4 separate regions of the Homo sapiens genome follow, and all the other regions are linked to region 4. The links are contacts of gene promoters, found by promoter capture Hi-C in blood cells and fetal thymus (Javierre and others, 2016). All regions are on one chromosome and are shown on one strand. Each heading gives the region's core, a stretch centred on a gene start or on the middle of the fragment in contact. The rest is flanking DNA. Distances are from core to core; before and after follow the strand shown.

Evidence for each region. The method cuts DNA at HindIII sites, captures the fragments that hold promoters and counts their contacts. A CHiCAGO score of 5 or more calls a contact.
Region 1: a contact is called between the fragment with the promoter of DHX34 here and the fragment with the promoter of SAE1 in region 4, in 2 of 17 cell types (neutrophils and erythroblasts). The highest score is 6.1, in neutrophils.
Region 2: a contact is called between a fragment that was not itself captured here and the fragment with the promoter of SAE1 in region 4, in 1 of 17 cell types (M2 macrophages). The highest score is 5.7, in M2 macrophages.
Region 3: a contact is called between a fragment that was not itself captured here and the fragment with the promoter of SAE1 in region 4, in 1 of 17 cell types (M1 macrophages). The highest score is 5.4, in M1 macrophages.

What each region holds. Positions count from the first base shown.
Region 1 is chr19:47,347,993-47,350,744 of GRCh38, forward strand. DHX34 (DExH-box helicase 34) reads left to right here and starts at 1,323. Exons shown (of 17, transcript NM_014681.6): 1 at 1,323-1,360. RefSeq lists an enhancer at 1,163-2,067. The HindIII fragment of the contact is 2,372 bases long and covers 1-1,594 here.
Region 2 is chr19:46,886,734-46,889,433 of GRCh38, forward strand. All of the region lies in intron 1 of ARHGAP35 (Rho GTPase activating protein 35), which reads left to right. Among named protein-coding and RNA genes, the nearest start is that of ARHGAP35, 27 kb to the left of the region's middle. The HindIII fragment of the contact is 4,283 bases long and covers 1-2,700 here.
Region 3 is chr19:46,902,863-46,905,562 of GRCh38, forward strand. The region is part of intron 1 of ARHGAP35 (Rho GTPase activating protein 35); the gene reads left to right. Among named protein-coding and RNA genes, the nearest start is that of ARHGAP35, 43 kb to the left of the region's middle. The HindIII fragment of the contact is 8,700 bases long and covers 1-2,700 here.
Region 4 is chr19:47,129,554-47,132,387 of GRCh38, forward strand. SAE1 (SUMO1 activating enzyme subunit 1) reads left to right here and starts at 1,282. Exons shown (of 9, transcript NM_005500.3): 1 at 1,282-1,475. The coding sequence starts at 1,378. RefSeq lists enhancers at 1,056-1,670, 1,363-1,602. The HindIII fragment of the contact is 6,112 bases long and covers 1-2,834 here.

The DNA of each region.
Region 1 (2,752 bases), core at 73-2,572, 220 kb after region 4:
CTTTGGGAGGCCGAGGTGGGCGGATCACGAGGTCAGGAGATCGAGACCATCCTGGCTAACACAGTGAAACCCCGTCTCTACTAAAAATACAAAAAATTAGCCGGGCGTGGTGGCGGGCGCCTGTAGTCCCAGCTATGCGGGAGGCTCAGGCAGGAGAATGGCGGGAACCTGGGAGGCGGAGCCTGCAGTGGGCCGAGATCGCGCCACCGCACTCCAACCTGGGCGACAGCGAGACTCCGTCTCAGAAAAAAAAAACAACAACACTTTTTTCTTTTTTTGAGACAGTCTGGCTCTGTCACCCAGGCTGGAGTGCGGTGGTACCATCATGGCTCACTGCAGCCTCAGTCTCTCAGCCTCCTAGGTTCAATCGATCCTCCCACCTCAGCCTCTTGAGTAGCTGGGACTACAGGCACACACTACCATATCCGACTAACTTTTGTATTTTTTTGTAGAAACAGGGGTTGGCCATATTGCCCAGGCTGGTGTGGAACGCCTGACCTCAGGTGATCCACCTACCCCGGCCTCTCAAACTGTTGGGATTACAGGCGTGAGCCGCCGTGCCCAGCTGTTTCTTCTTTCAGTTAATAAAAGAGAGGGTGCATTGCTGGCTAATGAGATTGTTTCTATACTTGGGGGTCTTCCTGAATGTGTGTGATTGAGTTTATTGCAGAGAAAGGTAACAGAAAATGGGGTTGTAGAAAGAAAAGAGGTAGAGGCTGAGTGAGATGCCCCACATCTGTAATCTCAGTGCTTTGGGAGGCCAAGGCGGGCGGATCACTTGAGATCAGGAGCTGGAGACCAGCCTGGCCCAAATCGTGAAACCTCGTCTCTACTAAAAATACAAAAATCAGCCAGGTGTAGTGGTGTGCGCCTGTAATCCCAGCTACTCGAGAGGCTGAGGCAGGAGAATGGTTTGAACTTGGGAGGCGGAGATTGCAATGAGGTGAGATAACGCCACTGCACTCTAGCCTGGGAGACAGTGAGACTATGTCTCAAAAGAAAAAAAAAAGTTCCTGGGCCCCAGACCAGCTCTCTCTTTGGGTTAAAACCCCGGCGTCCCGGAGCTGAGGCGCACGTGGCTATGCTTGGGGAGGAGAGGGCGGGGCCGGGGAGGAGGCGCTTGCAAGTCTGTACCGCAATGCCTCTACTGGCCTCTAGAGGGCGCAATCACTCGAGGCTCCGCCCCAAGCGAGGCGGGGCGGAAGCGTGCTGTGCACAGGCGCAAGATGGGTCTTGGGCAGCCCAGAGCTTCCGATTGGCTCTTCTGTGGTGGCGGGGCGGGGTCAGAACGAGATGGCTGTGTGCGCAGGCGCAAGACTAGCGCTCTTGGGACCGGAAGTTAAGGCGTTCGCGGCGTGTGGTAAGTGAGGGGGGCGGGACGGGTGTACCGGGTTGTGGCGGCGATGGCTGTCGGAGTTGGGCCGCTTGGGGGTAGTTTGGGGTGCGAGTCCAGGGGCGAGGGAAGTCTCGAGATGAGGAGAAATGTAGGAGGCAGCCGAAGGGCCGGCAAACGCGGACAGAGATGGCACCTGAGCGTCCCTGGGAGAACCTGGGCGACAGGCCAGAGACCGAAAGAAATGGAGGCACGAAAAGAAGCTTCGAGAAACTGAGGGACTGAAAGACGAGGGTGTTGGGAGAGGAGGGAAGCTGAAAACTAGAGAGCGTGGGCGAGAGTGCCGATGGGTTCCAGCGAGAGTCTTAGAGCCCACGAGGCCGAGAGGCGTGGTCGCCCATGAACTTGGGGAGTGGAGGGAAAAGTCGGAAACTGATCGTGGACACTAGAAACAGAAAAAATGGAATTTAGATGGAGAAACGAGACACTGAATCACGGGGGAGACCGAGAGATACGGAAGGATGGAGACAGTTGAAATAGGAAGAACCCCACAAAAGCTGGAGATAATGGAGAACGATGCTGAGAAATGGAAAAGCGAGGGAGTGGAGCCCGAACCCCTGGATTTGAGTGGCTCATGTAACACTCGGCTACTCACTTAGCCTCTCTATTGCTCAGTAAAATAGGGGGTGATCATAGTGCCTGACAGTCGTGAGAAAAGTGTGTGTGTGTATGTACATAGGTGTGGGATAGGAATAGATCATGCAGATAGGATAGGTCTGTGTGTTAATGTGAGTAAGTAAGCATGAGCTATTACTAAAGCTTCTGATATTGGGAGATAAAGTATTAGATGGGGAAATGGAGAGAGGTGGTGATGGAGAGTGAATACTGGAAGGACAAAAGGGAGGAAAAAAAGATTCAAACAGAAAATGAGAAAGGGCGTGGTGACTCACTCCTGTCATCCACAGCACTTTGGGAGGCTGCGGTGGGAGGATCACTTGAGCTTGGGAGGTCGAGGCTGCTGTACGCCGTGATTGTGCCACTGCACTTCAGGCTGGGTGACAGAGTGAGACCCTGTTTCAAAAAAACAAAAATGAATTTTTTTTTTTTTTTTTTGAGATGGAGTTTCGCTCTTGTTGCCCAGGCTGGAGTGCAGTGGTGCGATCTTGGCTCACTGCAACCTCTGCCTCCTGGGTTCAAGCGAGTCTCCTGCCTCAGCCTCCAGAGTAGCTGGGATTACAGGCAGGTGCCACCACCCTGGCTAATTTTGTATTTTTAGTAGAGACGGGATTTTTCCATGTTCGTCAGGCTGGTCTCGCACTCCCGACCTCAGGTGATCTGCCTGCCTCAGCCTCCCAAAGTGCTGGGATTATAGGCGTGAGCCACCATGCCCGGCCTGAAAAAGCATTTTTTTTTTAATGA
Region 2 (2,700 bases), core at 134-2,633, 240 kb before region 4:
ATGATTGTTGCGATATGATTGAATTTCTATCCTAATGCTTAAGAATCCTTAGTGAAAATGTGGGAAAGAGGATGAATCACTGTTTTCTCCCTTCCCAAATCCCAGATGATTTTGCTAGAATTTTAAGGATGGATTGAGTGTTCAGGTGATTTTGTCTTGACTTCTTGGGTTGGTTGGGATCTTTAAAGAGAGAGAGATTAAAAAGGATTTACTACTAGCAAAACTGAAAAAGCAGAAACATGTCTGCTTGAATTTTGAGTTTCTTTTCTCTTTGATAGTGGAAGCAGCATCTTAGGCCAGGTTCATTTTGTAACTGGTGTGGGTGTATGTATGCATGTGTACATCCGTCTCATGTTTGTTAAATTTTCTTGACTCCCTAACAGTTGTTTGTACTCCACATCATCAGTTTTGGTACCTTCTACTCGTTACTGAAAGGATATATTTACCTTCTCAGTGGGTTGGTGAAGATGGGGGGTGGGGGAGCATATATGGAAACTGATGAAAATGATAAAACCGTGGTGCTCCAAAGTAAAGAAAGGAATTTTTAAAAGCCTTTGAATTAACTGGAATGTGGGATCTTGGATTGGATCCTGGTACAGAAAAGGCAATAAATAGAAAAACTGGTAAAATCTGAAAGTCTGTAGTTTAGTTTTTTGTGCTAATTTCTTAGTTTTGACAAATACACCATGGTTATGTGAACATTAGGGGAAGCTGGGTGAAGGGTATGTGAGGACTCTGTAACATCTGCAGCTTTTTTGTATATCTAAAATTATTCCAGAGTAAGAAATTGAAATAGAAGCTGTGACTAGCAAGAGCTTCCAAGGGCTGTGACTTCACCAAGGGAGTGTGTTCATAAGTAGGGCTTCTCTCTAAGGGCCTCTAGAAGTTCTGCTTATCTGCCCACTTCCCTCCTTCAACTCAGTGCTCTAACCATGTGGAATGACTAACTCTCCCCAAAATCCATGCTTCTGGGCCGTTTCATACACTTCTCATCGGGGTATTCTCCTGCTACACCCTCCCCGACCGAACCAAAAACAAAATACATAAAGATCACCTAAAAAACAAAAAATGCAGCTTGACTAATTCCTTTTCATTCTTTAGGTCTCTGGCTTAGATTTTATTTTTTTCAGGAAGCCTTCCCTGACCCACAGAAGTCAGTGTCTTGTCTGAGTTTGCCTGCTGAGTGGAACCCTCATTGTGCTGGTACTTAGTACTTTGCCTTTTTTTTTTTTTTCTGAGACGGAGTCTTGCTCTGTTGCCCAGGCTGGAGTGCAGTGGCACGATCTCGGCTTACTGCAAGCTCCGCCTCCTGGGTTCATGCCATTCTCCTGCCTCAGCCTCCTGAGTAGCTGGGACTACAGGCGCCCGCCACCACGCCTGGCTAATTTTTTTGTATTTTTAGTAGAGACGGGGTTTCACCATGTTAGCCAGGATGGTCTCGATCTCCTGACCTTGTGATCCGCCCACCTCGGCCTCCCAAAGTGCTGGGGTTACAGGCGTAAGCCACCGCACCCGGCCTCAATCAATAATATATATATATATATATATATATATATATATATATATATATATATATATATATATAAAATATTGATTTTATACACACACACACACACACACACACACACACACCCCACAACAAGAAGTAAGGCTCCTGCTCACACCTTCTTAGGCTCCACTGGCAGCAGCTTCCCTCATGCCCTTGGGTAACGGTGGCTGTGGTTTGCTCTGTACCAGCATATATGCTGTAGATGGCCAAATCCCTGCCAGGGAGACAAACTCAGCACCATAAAGGTGAGAAAGCACATTTTGTAAGGCTTATTCTTATATTTCAAGGTCCCAGGGGTCCAATTTAGGAAAATGTTTTGTTTTTTAAAATCTGCTTAGTTATGTAGCATTATCTTTTCCTGTACTATGTGAATTTACAGCTCATTTTACCATAAAAGATAATGTGTAGGTTGTTTAAAACCTGTTCTTTGGCCGGGTGTGGTGGCTTATGCCTGTAATCCCAGCACTTTGGGAGGCTGAGGCGGGCAGATCACTAGGCCAGGAGATCGAGACCATCCTGGCTAACACGGTGAAACTCTGTCTCTACTAAAAATACAAAAAAAAAAAAAAAAAAAAAATTAGGCAGGGGTGGTGGCACGTGCCTGTAGTACCAGCTACTCAGGAGGCTGAGGCAGGAGAATCACTGGGGTGGAGGTTGCAGTGAGCCAAGATCACGCCACTGCACTCCAGCCTGGGTGGCAGAGCGAGACTCCGTCTCAAAACAAAACAAAGCAAAACAAAAAACCCTGTTCTTGGACTGGGCATGGTGGCTCACACCTGTAACCCCTGCACTTTGGGAGGCCGAGGCAGGTGGATCACCCAAGGTCAGGAGTTCGAGACCAGCCTGGCCAACATGATGAAACCCCTGTCTCTACTAAAAATACAAAAAATTAGCCAGGCATGGCCAGGCGCTGTGGCTCACACCTGTAATCCCAGCACTTTGGGAGGCTGAGGTGGGCAGTTCACGAGGTCAGTAGATCAAGACCATCCTGGCCGACATGGTGAAACCCTGTCTCTACTAAAAATACAAAAGTTGGTGTGGTGGCGTGTGCCTGTAGTCCCAGCTACTCAGGAGGCTGAGGCAGGAGAATCCCTTGAACCTGGGAGGTGGAGGTTGCAGTGAGCTAAGATCGCACCACTGCACTCCAGCCT
Region 3 (2,700 bases), core at 184-2,683, 230 kb before region 4:
TTCTTCACTGGGCAAAAAGGGCTCTTTATCTGAATGCAATCTATGATGTCCTCAGTGAAGAAAACTAAAGGGTTGGTGTGTATGATATCGCATTTTGGTATGAACAGATTATATATGTTTCTGTGCCCACACCTGTACCCTTGAGGAGCGGTAATAGCCAGAAGGGATCGTGGTGTTAGAGATGGCAAAGCTAAGGCTCTGACAGGCTCTCTTAAGTTAAGGCCTTGACAGTGGGTTTTCTGAGCAGAAAGCAGAAATCACAGATGGATTCAGGGGCCGGGGAGTGGTCTGCGGCATTGGGGAGACACATGCAATAGTGAAGGAACTGGGTTGAGACACCTACTCATCCCCAAACCCTCTCTTCATTCTGCACACAGTAATCATATTAGCTATGGTACAAGTTTCCCATAAGATTTTAACATAGTAAATGCCGTGGGAGTCAGAGTCGGTCTGCTGACAGGGTTTTTATAATGGTGATGTACGTTGTTGTGCATTGATTTTAAGACGATTCAAAAGAAAGTAGCTGCTCTGTGCTCTTCCCAGGGCCATTCAGAGCCAGGGAGTGGGAGGTGAGGCCACGGAGGGAACCACTCAGTGGGTTTATCTTGGGCATTCTGTGCATATGTAACTGAGAAAGGTATGTTGTTACCTAATGTATGCTTTTGATAATTTGGACCAAGAGACATGGTATTCTGAATAGCAGCCAAATATATGAGGTCAAGGTGACTTCCTCTAGCAATTAGGACAGCTGTCATGGAAGAGTAGGCCAGACCTGATTTCCTTCTTAAGTCCGAGGGCTAAACCAGTGATAAGAGATGACTCGTTGATCTTCCTGATATTACTGGCCAAGCACTTTCTAAGGAATGACGATTGATAAGGAAGAACAAACTACTATTTTGGTCTCTTATCTAAAGGAAAATCATGAAGCTAGCACTTTATAGAAAATGCACTTATTCAGTTCCTTGTATGATCACAAATGTTTTCTTAGTTATTTTTGGGCTCCCCAACAGGATATGTTACTTATAGTTTGAAATTCGCCTTTTTTTTTTTCTCTGAAATATATCTTGAAGTGTTGAGTGGTGGCTAGGTGCCATATAGAACATACAAGCAGAATTTTATAGAAGTATACATTTAGTGAGGGGTGGAGATTATTGCTTTAATAAATGGGACTGGCTGGATGTCATTCTTTTTTGTCCCCTTCCCAGTCACTTTGACTCTAGGGTCTTGATTAATGTGATCATCTCTGCAGAGTGTGGAGAGACAGCACTGGGATGGGGGTGGGAAGTGGGCGCAAAGCCTTTCTTAGGGCACAGACAGCTCTGACAGCAGTTTCTGGGACTGCCTTCCCCTCTCCCCTTCAGCTTCCGCATCTGTGACGTGAGGGAGCTGGCTGCCAGCATTCCCAGCTTGGCCTGCCTTCCAGTGGCTTTCATTCAGAGACAGCAGATCATGTTCATCTGGAAGTTTTCTTAGTTGTTCATCTCAAGAAGAATCTTAGGAATTTTTTTTCAAATCAGCCAGTTTTCCTCAGATTTTGCTTCTTCTTTATCTGCCCTGTTCCTTTGGCTAATCTTCTGTCAGCGAGACACAGGGTCATCAGTTTAAGTATGGGAAGGAAATTATGGCCTTGAGCACAGGCAGAAAGCATCTGGCTCCCAGGCGCTTCCTGTGAGCCACCATGAAATTACAAAGACTGGGCCTGACAAGGCCTTTCAAAGGAGCATCTCACACCACCACTGTGTCAGCATTTCCATGATTCCATCGTAAAGCAGTTGTTTTTCCTGATGCTTATTATGACCAGGTTGGAGTTGGCCTTTACATGGGAAGCGTTTATCCAGTGGATGAGAGTGAAACAGCAGGACAGAGGTGGCGGGGGAGAGGGCTCAGATTGCTCTCGGAATTCCCTTCTCCAGCCCGGTCCTGACCAAGCCATTCTTGCTCAGAAGCCTGTGGTTCCTCAGAGGATGAAGTCCAGACTGTCTTTAGCGTGTCAGGACCCTCCACAGACTTGCCCCCAGCGTCTCCCACCATATGTGCCTATGCTCCGCGTTCCTGTTCTCCAGCCAGGGCAGTGCGGGGGAGTGGAGGGACGAGAGCTGGGGGTGGTGTCAGGAGACCTGGGTTCTGGACTGGGGTTCCTGTCTATCTAGCTGAGTTATTTCATTTCTCTCTGTCTCAGTAGTTACTAATCTGGATAGGCTTACCAAATGAGAGGAGGAGAAGAAAAGGTTTAGGAGACAGATTACAAGGCTCTTTCTGATTCTTGTCTCCTGGCCTAGCTTGGAAATTAGAACACCAAATGTCTGAGCATTAAATGGGTTTTTGAACCATGAAGTTTTTTGAACTTCTTAAAAACAAAAACAAACAAAAAGAAAACACTGTAGGTTGGGCGTGGTGGCTCACGCCTATAATCTCAGCACTTTGGGAGGCTGAGGCGGGTGGATCAGGAGATCGAGGCCAGCCTGGCCAAGACTGTGAAACCTCATCTCCACTAAAAGTAGAACTTAAACTTTTTTTTTTTTTTTTTTTAATAGATGGAGTCTCATTCTGTCACCTAGGCTGGAGTGCAGTGGCGCGATCTTGGCTCACTGCCACCTCTGCCGCCGGGGTTCAAGAGACTCTCCTGCCTCAGCCTCCCGAGTAGTTGGGACTACAGGCGCCTGCCACCGCGCCCAGCTAATTTTTGTATTCCACCCCCCC
Region 4 (2,834 bases), core at 32-2,531:
AAGTGCTGGGATTACAGGCATGAGCCACTGTGCCCTGCCAAAAAGCCTATGATTCTAACATCAGAAATCCTTCCACCTCAGCCTCCCACGTAGCTGGGACTATAGACTCAGTACCACCACACCAAGCTAATTTTTGTATTTTTAATAGAGATAGCGTTTCCCTATATTGACCACCTGGGGCCATCCCTGGTTTTTTTTTTTTTTCCCTTCCTTCCTTCCTTTCCCTCTCTCTTTCCCTCCCTCCTTCCTTCCTTTCTTTCTTTCTTTCTTTTTTTTTTTTTTTTACAGAGTCTTGCTCTGTTACCCAGGTTGGAGTGCAGAGGCATGATCTTGGCTTACTACAACCTCCGCCTCCCGGATTCAAGCAATTATCCTACCTCAGCCTTCCAAGTAGCTGGGACTACAAGTGTGAGCCACCATGCCCTGCTAATTTTTTTATTTTTACTAAAGACGGGATTTCACCACATTAGCCAGGCTGGTCTCCAACTCCTGATTTAAAGTAATCTGCCTGCCTTGGCCTTCCGAAGTGCTGAGATTACAGGTGCGAGTCACCGTGCCTGGCCTATTCCTGTTTTCTTAACGCTCCTCTCTCCCACTGGGCCGTGACTGCCTCTAAGGCAGAGATGTGTTCATTTTTATTATTATTGTATGTCCAGGGCTGGGCACAAAGTGCAACACATAGTAGGGACATGAAAGGCTGGGCACAGTGGCTCATGGTTGTAATCCCAGCACTTTGGGAGGCAGAGGCGGGAGGATGGCTTGAGGCCAGGAGTTGGAGACCAGCCTAGGCAACAGAGGGACCCCATCTCTATGAAAAAAAAAAAAAAAAATTGACAGTTCAATGTCACCTCTGATAAGCCTTCCCTGACCACCCCTGTTACTCTGTAGCCCCATGTCCTGCTTTATTTTTCTCCAAAGCATTTATCATCGCTGGGTTTATATTTATTTCTCTTCGGGCTTTTCTCACTGGATCGTAAACTCCATGAGGACAGGGCTTTGTCGATTTCACTCAATACCGTTATTTTACAACATCCCTATTGCTGGGATCTCAGTATGCACTCCTTAAATATTTGCAGAATTTAAGTGCCACATAAGTGACCACGTGGGCAACGCCCTCGGGGCCTTAAGCCGCGCCATTTTTGGGGCTAGGATTGGTTGGACCCTCCGTCACGTGACATGCAGTCGCCGGATCGCCTTTGAGTCTCGTGAGGTACTTTTGGTCCCAGGCTCCGCGGACGAGGTACTGCGCAGGCGTGGGAGGGTCTGCGCATGCGCAGAAGCACTCCGGGCGTGCTGCCGGCGGCGGTAGGTGGCGCGCGGGTCCGGCGGGCGGTTGGCTTGAGCGGGACCGGAGCTGAGGCAGGAAGAGCCGGCGCCATGGTGGAGAAGGAGGAGGCTGGCGGCGGCATTAGCGAGGAGGAGGCGGCACAGTATGACCGGCAGATCCGCCTGTGGGGACTGGAGGCCCAGAAACGGTCAGGGCCGGCGCGGCTTGAGGCCGCTAGGGTCTGGAGGGGGCGTCTATTCTGAGGCGTTTGCGGCCCGGAAGGAGCGGGAAGGTGTGATTTGAAGGGAGGAGGCGGGAATTCTGTGCTCTGGGATCGTCTCTCTCTTGGGGGGACTGGAGGAGTTGATTGGGGATGTTTCTGGAAGGTCTGGGAAGTGGTTGGGAGGGCCGTTCCGAAGGATGGGAGCTCTGAAGGGGGCGTTGGGGAGTCCTGAGAGAGCGGGAGAATTCAAACTCAGGAAATCCGAGGCCCGAAAGCGGTGATTGTGGGGTTTGATCGCGGTTAGGGGATAAGAGGGGCTGGGGATACGTGGAAAGGGTGAGGTGAGGGACGCAGTTCATTCATTCGAGGGTATGGGACCTGGTTCCGTGCTGCACACAGGGGAGACTGGACTGGCCAACCGGACAGACGGGAGCTTACACTCTTGTGGGAGCTCACGGGCGGGCCAGTCTGAGAGAATGCGGGTTTTGAGGAGTTTTGGAGCAAGTTATCTCAAATGGGAATCTTGAGAGGCTCGGAGAGGCTGGAGGGGGACGGCCGTAGGCTCCCGAAAAGGTTGCTTGTGTTTGGTATGGGGCTGTGTCTTGATAGGACAGGAGACGTAGTTTGGGCATTGTGGAGTAGCTTAGGGAATTCTTTTTTTTTTTTTTTTTTTTTTTGAGATAGTCTCTCTCTGTCGCCCAGGCTGGAGGGCAGTGGCGCGATCTCGGCTCACTGCAACCTCTGCCTCCCGGATTCAAGCGATTCTCCTAACTCAGCCTCCCGAGTAGCTGGGATTATAGGGGCCCGCCAGCACGCCCGGCTAATTTTTGTATTTTTAGTAGACACGGGGTTTCGCCATATTGACGAGACTGGTCTCGATCTCCTTACCTCAAGTGATCCACCCGCCTCGGCCTCCTGAAGTGCTGGGATTACAGGAGTGAGCCACCGCGCCAGGACGTCTTTTGTTTTGTGCAGTTGGGTGACCTCGGTTCACTGCAGCCTCTGGCCTCCCGGGTTCAAGACTTCCTCTCACCTCAGTCTTCTGAGTAGCTGGGATTACAGGCTCGCGCCACCATGCCTGGCTAATTTTTGTATTTTTAGTAGACATGGGTTTTCACCATGTTGGCCAGGCTGGTCTCAAACTCCGGACCTCAAGTGATCTGCCCGCCACAGCCTCCCAAAGTGGTTGGATTACAGACGTGAGCCACTGTGCCCAGCTTGTTTTTTTTTTTTTTCTTTCTCTGTGGCCCAGTGGAGTGCAGTGGTGGGATCACAGCTCACTGTAGCCTCAACCTCCAAGGCTCAAGGGATATTCCCTCTTCAGCCTCCCAAGTAGCTGGGACT